Regions from separate parts of the Homo sapiens genome. Here region 2 is linked to region 1. The links are contacts of gene promoters, found by promoter capture Hi-C in human tissues and cell types (Jung and others, 2019). All regions are on one chromosome and are shown on one strand. The core of a region is centred on a gene start or on the middle of the fragment in contact, and the rest is flanking DNA. Distances in the headings are between cores, read along the strand shown. Region 1 holds the start of DYNC1I1 (dynein cytoplasmic 1 intermediate chain 1). Region 2 overlaps COL1A2 (collagen type I alpha 2 chain).

What was found. The method cuts DNA at HindIII sites, captures the fragments that hold promoters and counts their contacts. A contact is called where the count stands out against the background at its distance.
Region 2: a fragment that was not itself captured here is called in contact with the fragment with the promoter of DYNC1I1 in region 1 in 1 of the 25 tissues and cell types used here (small bowel).

What each region holds. Positions count from the first base shown.
Region 1 is chr7:95,771,242-95,774,274 of GRCh38, forward strand. DYNC1I1 (dynein cytoplasmic 1 intermediate chain 1) reads left to right here and starts at 1,313. Exons shown (of 17, transcript NM_001135556.2): 1 at 1,313-1,532. The HindIII fragment of the contact is 6,379 bases long and covers 1-3,033 here.
Region 2 is chr7:94,416,843-94,419,960 of GRCh38, forward strand. It overlaps COL1A2 (collagen type I alpha 2 chain), which reads left to right. Exons shown (of 52, transcript NM_000089.4): 32 at 882-989; 33 at 1,657-1,710; 34 at 2,656-2,709. Among named protein-coding and RNA genes, the nearest start is that of COL1A2, 24 kb to the left of the region's middle. The HindIII fragment of the contact is 6,036 bases long and covers 1-3,118 here.

The sequences.
Region 1 (3,033 bases), core at 63-2,562:
ATATTCAGTCACGGTAGTGGCAAATATTTATTTCCTAGATTTTTCCTTCTGGAATACCTTGAATACCTTCTACCTAGACATTTAACCTCTTCATTTCTAGCCATAGTTACAATCGCAGTAGATTAGCCAGGGAGGCCAAAGTTTTAGAATAAGGATGGCCATTTACAGATGAGTATGTATTCATACTGTATTCATACTAGAATCTGTATTTATTTTGAAATTACTGTAGTACTTGTGAATTAATAAGTTCATAAATATTTACTGAGTACCCATTATATATCAGAATGCTGTTCTAGATACTAAGAATACAGCAGTGAACAAGATAGCGTCCCTGCCCTCCACTAATTTACATTCTAATGTGTAAAAATACACCACAGATGTGCAAGAAATATGATGAAAAGCTCATCTATAAAATGATACCAAACCCCCTAACATCCCAAACTCAATTTTTTGGCCTTATAACTTAGCTGTTGTGGCAAGCTTGTTTTTTGCAGAGTCCAATAATAGTTACCCAGATTTTTTTTTGTTTCCCCGAGACGGAGTTTCGCTCTTGTTGCCCAGGCTTTGAGTGCAGTGGCGGGATCTCGGTTCACCACAACCTCCGCCTCCCGGGTTCAACCATTCTCCTGCCTTAGCCTCCCGAGTAGCTGGGATTACTGGCATGCACCACCACGCCCGGCTAATTTTGTATTTTTAGTAGAGACGGGGTTTTTTCATGTTGGTCAGGCTGGTCCCCCAACTCTCGACCTCAGGTGATCCGCCCTCCTCGGCCTCCCAAAGTGCTTGGATTACAGGCGTGAGCCACCGCGTCTGGCCAGTTACCCAGATTTTTAAAAGCTGGGACTTTAAGAAGCAATGTGAAGACAAGCTACACACACACCACACCACACACACACACACACACACACACACACACACAGACACACACACTTAATTCTTTTTTCTTCTAGAAAAATTGGGATCAATCAGACCTATAAGTCATTGTGTACAACAGGTAGATCTGAGCTTTATTTCTATTTAAATGACCTTAAGAAGTGTAGTTGCCTGGGAGTGAAAGTTGTTCAATGGTGGCATTTCAGCAGGAGCTCCCAGAATATTGAAGCTCTTCTCTTTGCAGCAACTGAGGTCTAAGTCCTACCGACGTTAGAGGGATAGACGAATTGACCTTTCCAGGTCCTCTGCTCGCCACCAGCCTACGGAGCGGCGCCACCCCCTCCTGGCGAGACCGGGCGCGGAAGACGCGGAGCGGAGGCCCTCCCTCAGGAGGGGCGCGGGCGTGGAGGGCGTGGGCAGGGGGCGGGGCGAGCCCCGCAGACTGAGTGCTCCGGGGAGCTGTCAGTGTCAGGCTCTGGGAGAGAGGAAGTGATCGCTCCCGGAGGAGCGCGAGCCGAGCGGCCGGCGCAGCGTGAGACAGCACATCCTGCCCGCGCCGGCCCCGCCACCTTCGGGAGCCGCCTGCACCAACGCTGCCGCCGCCCAGGAGCCGCCGCCGGCTCGGGGAGCCCAGTTCCGCCGCTGCCGAGCGCGTCCAGGTAAACTGGAGCGGGATGTCGCCGCTCCCCGGACGGCCGCCTCCGCACCTCTCCCCAACCCTCCCCACCCCGGTGTCGTCTGCGCTGGGAACCAGGCTGGAGCCGAGGCCCCTGCAGCCGCAGCCGGACCCTTGTCCTGGCCCCCTGCCCAGGCTCCTGCGTGCTCCGCTGAGCCCGAAGGCGGCCAAAGCCCCCCAGTGACACCCCCCTCTCGGCAGAGCCGAGAGACTAGGGCAGAGAAGGAAGGGTCGTGGTGTCACCACCTGGTCGCCCACCTTGTGGGCTGGGAAGGGCGTCCCAGTGCGCCCCGCCTCGGTCTTCCCCGGGGGAGCAGTGGGCGAGCGGCGCTGAAATCTGCACCCCTCTGGGCCACCGGCTGACTGCCCCTGGAGGAGGGGGAAAGCTGCAGAGGGAGGGGAAAGGATGCTGTTTGATTACATTTCGAGCTGTCTGCAAAGCTCTTAGATGCTGTCACTACCCTGCAAGTCGGAGGGAGCGAATTCACTTCCAGCAGGGCATTAATTAAACACTTCAAAGCGAGAAGATGCCAGTTTCTCTCTGCTGCGAAAAAGTGTGGCTGGGGGATGTTGTTTTGGTAAACACCTTCACGGCCGCCTGGCTCTCCTTCCCCCGCTCCCATTCGGAATCGCTCTGGCCTTATAAATCCGTGCGTCGTCATCATAAGGGCAGTGATCCTGGCAGCGCTGATGGGAACTGAGTGTGCGGGAGTCTCATGACTTGTACCTTGGCTAATAAGATTAAACAGAAGCCCAGGATCAGGACAGGAAATTACATAGGAGATCAGAGACTCAACAACATGCAGAAGATGGAATATATTCGCTATTCTGGCCTCTACTAATCCTAGGTAAGGGGCAGGAACAAGTAGCCAGCCATTTTCTTGCTTGGAATGCCTTTCAAGTGGGCATTGTAGACTTATTGTAGTTCAGAGTTGTGAAGAATTGCTTCCAAATATTCCAGATTAGCAAAAAGTATAGCTAACAGTAAGGCATAGGCAACTGCAGGTGACAACCCAACGCCTGATGTTAACACAGACATGGGTAACCAGTCTGTGTACATACTTTAATTGTGGAAATTATAGAGATATACGTTGATCAGTGTTAGTAAATTTGAAAAGGGAATATTCAGTGCAATTTGCAAGCTGAGGGTACTGGTGAGAATGTAATACTACCTCTAATTATTTAAAATGCCAAGTTTGTTCAAAAAGGTTTGGTGTGGAAAAAGGGGTCCTAACTCAGCTCTTTTGATCATATTTCTCAATAAAATAAAATCTGAAACACCTGCCACTGAGTTACCACATGTTCTCTTCATAAGAACTAACTCTCGAATATTTGTTTAGGTCTGAGGATCCAGTGCTCCAAGACCCATTCCTCTTAAAACCTCTAGCACCATCCTTGGGAAGTTTTTAGAATACAGTTGGGGGTCGAATGCAGGCTTTTCCAGCCTGTCAAGCTCTTAGCCCTGTTTCTGGCCCACAGCATCT
Region 2 (3,118 bases), core at 601-3,100, 1.4 Mb before region 1:
TTAACATCTCATCCCATAGAGTAAAATTTCAACAAGTAGTCTGACTTTTAATAATAAGAGTTTATGATGATGAAAATTCATTGGGCAATACATTCACCCCCAAAAATTTGTCTGGAAACTTGTGTTCCAAAATAGAATCTGTGGTTTAGATTTTAAAATAGATTTAATATACATTCCTGAAAAAGAGATTACCTTAACCACAATAAAAAGAAGACAACACATATTATTTTCATTCTTAACTCTAGGGGAAAAAATGTAAACATTAGTTGCAAAAAGCTATTTTAGTGTATGGAAGGATGTTCTTGGGAAAAAAATAAAAACATAAAAGGGAGAGAGGAAATAAAGAAACCACGGTTTTGTGAGGTAGTACTTTCAAAGGGATCTATGTATCTCAGAAGCTAGTCAACAGGTTTTAAGTATGTGGAATTGTAGGGTTTTATATAAAAATGGAAGATACAGTCTCTACTCTTAAGGAGATTAAAACACAAACATCTCCTCAATTGACAAGGTCTCTTTCCATGCTTTCTATCTGGGCTAAGAGACTTATCCTTGAAAAATGTTTGTGGGTAAACATTTTTTACTCTCTGCTTCCCATTGTCCTATCCTCTTCTCCATGCCTGCCATCCTTAAGAGGACTGAAGCAGGTTATAGAGGAATCGCAGCTGTGCACTCCCACTACCCTCATCTCTTCAGTCACCATGTCATTAACAGCATCTCTCTCTGCTATATTCTCCCTCCTTTCAATAGCCCAGCCTTCTTTGTGTTTCAAAGCAGGCAAGAAGCCTGTCTAGCTAGCTGTTTAAATTGGAATTCTTCTAGAGTTTGATTCTTCATTTTCTTCTTTCTCCACTAAAATTGATTTCACATGTGTTTGACTCAAGGGTGAACCTGGTGTGGTTGGTGCTGTGGGCACTGCTGGTCCATCTGGTCCTAGTGGACTCCCAGGAGAGAGGGGTGCTGCTGGCATACCTGGAGGCAAGGGAGAAAAGGTACGTGTTGACCCCTATTACATATTGTTGATGAACTCTAGTAAAGAAGGCTGCACAAGGATGCCCAAGTTTTCACAATTCTTGGCAGGTGGTCTGGTAGCATTTTCATATCTATCTATATACATTTCCCTCTGCCACCTAGCACCTACACATTTCTAAACTCACTAATCTGGCAAAATTCCTTGCTACCATGGAATTTCACACAAACAGATGGTGTTGAGTAATACATGAGGCTCATTTTAATGCCACTAACAATAATGCCTCATCCTGTCCTAATTAATGGGAAGAAGCTACATTGAACAGCTGTCAACCATGCTGCTGCATTAGTTATGCCGTAAGAGTGATCAGGCGCTGCAGCCCATTGTGATGTTGCCTTACAATTCTGTCCACATGAATCTGTACCTTGCTTGATTATGCTTCAGGAGAGTGTACGGAAATTAGAAAAGATTGTTTAACAATAATCTGGAAATGGCCTTGAATTATTTTTTCCTCATTATTTTTCTCGATTAACATTCTACAGAATGGTAAGGAATCGAGACATTGCTAAAAATCTTAAATGACTGAAGGTATCATAGCATCTTCTGTAAAAAAGAAAAAAACTTCATATTAATTTCGATTCAAAATTTTGGTCAGAAAACAAAAAGTTGCTCTTGCTTTATACTTTCAGGGTGAACCTGGTCTCAGAGGTGAAATTGGTAACCCTGGCAGAGATGGTGCTCGTGTGAGTAGAATTTTGTTTGTATGTTTCTTCGTACTTGGATTTTTTTTTTATGTTTGAATTGAGAAGTTTTCCAAATTAGAACTACACACACTTTATTTATCAAGTTTAATAAAATAATATTCCTTTCTCTCCTGGGTCTATGACTAATAATATCATTTTACATGTTCCAAAGGAAAAATTAAATGGGATTTAACCTCTTTGAAAATAATATCCTGAATTTTCTAACTTCCCTAGTGTCAATGATACCAACTACAAACTATAGACCAAAAGCTTTAGGTTTAATAGAATATTAAATGATTGCTTCAAGTGATAACAGAGATTAAAATAAATAAATAAATAAGTCTCCTATGCTTTAGGAAGCCGGGACCTCTAACAAGATTCTATAGTTATTCAAACCTACTCCCTAGAAATTTATCACCCAAAGAGCAGCCCCAAAGATTAGCTGTTAATGCCATGAAGATGCCAAAGATAATCCCATGACAGTCTAATTACCTTATCTCGTATGTCAGCCTCATGGGTCTTCTAGGCCACAGTCGGCCTGGATTCCTTTATTCACCTCTCCTTCAGAGCTGAAAACTGACTGTAGCACATCTGTAATAGTCTTTCTTTTGAATCACGTAGTTCTAACAGTTTCAAACAAGGCTACTCATTTGCTGCTCTCCAGGGAATTTTACAATAGCGGAAAGTTCAGATCTCCCAAATTTCTGACCTGCTATTGACTTACACATTTCCATAACCTTTATTACTGGAGTACCCTCCTTCTGAGAGTGGCTTCTAATAGTCTTGTTAATTAGAACCAAAATACATCAGAGGCCTTCTAGATATCCAACCAGAGTGCAGTGAAAGTGTTCAGTCACTGTATAAGCACAGAAAAAAAGAATGACAAGGTTCACTTTTGATGATACGGGGTGTTATTAATAAGACATGTTTCCTTTTTGGTACTAGGGTGCTCCTGGTGCTGTAGGTGCCCCTGGTCCTGCTGGAGCCACAGGTGACCGGGTAAGCATGCATTTTCACTAAGCCAACAGCAATATCTAAAATTTCCCGCCTTCCCTAGTCCCAAAGAGCCCCAGCAATTCATTTTTATGGCTTGGTATAAAGCCTACTTATTTAAAAACCTAGCTATTGTGATAGAGCAGCAGGAAACAAATGCTGTGTGTTTAAAATTACTTTTCCCTTCCTATAGATTTGCCAGCTATCTGATCTATACTCTAATCCCTAGCATTTGTTTTAAAGTCTCTCCATGTTGCGCATTAACAATATCCTAATGCACTGAGGCTTCTCAAAGCCTTCAATTATTACCAAAAAATCAATAAAATACATAGTGTGCCCATTTCACATTGAACTCTCCACTTAAAATAGATCTTATTTATTGTATTGCAAAGATTGCCACAAATAGATCAGCCCC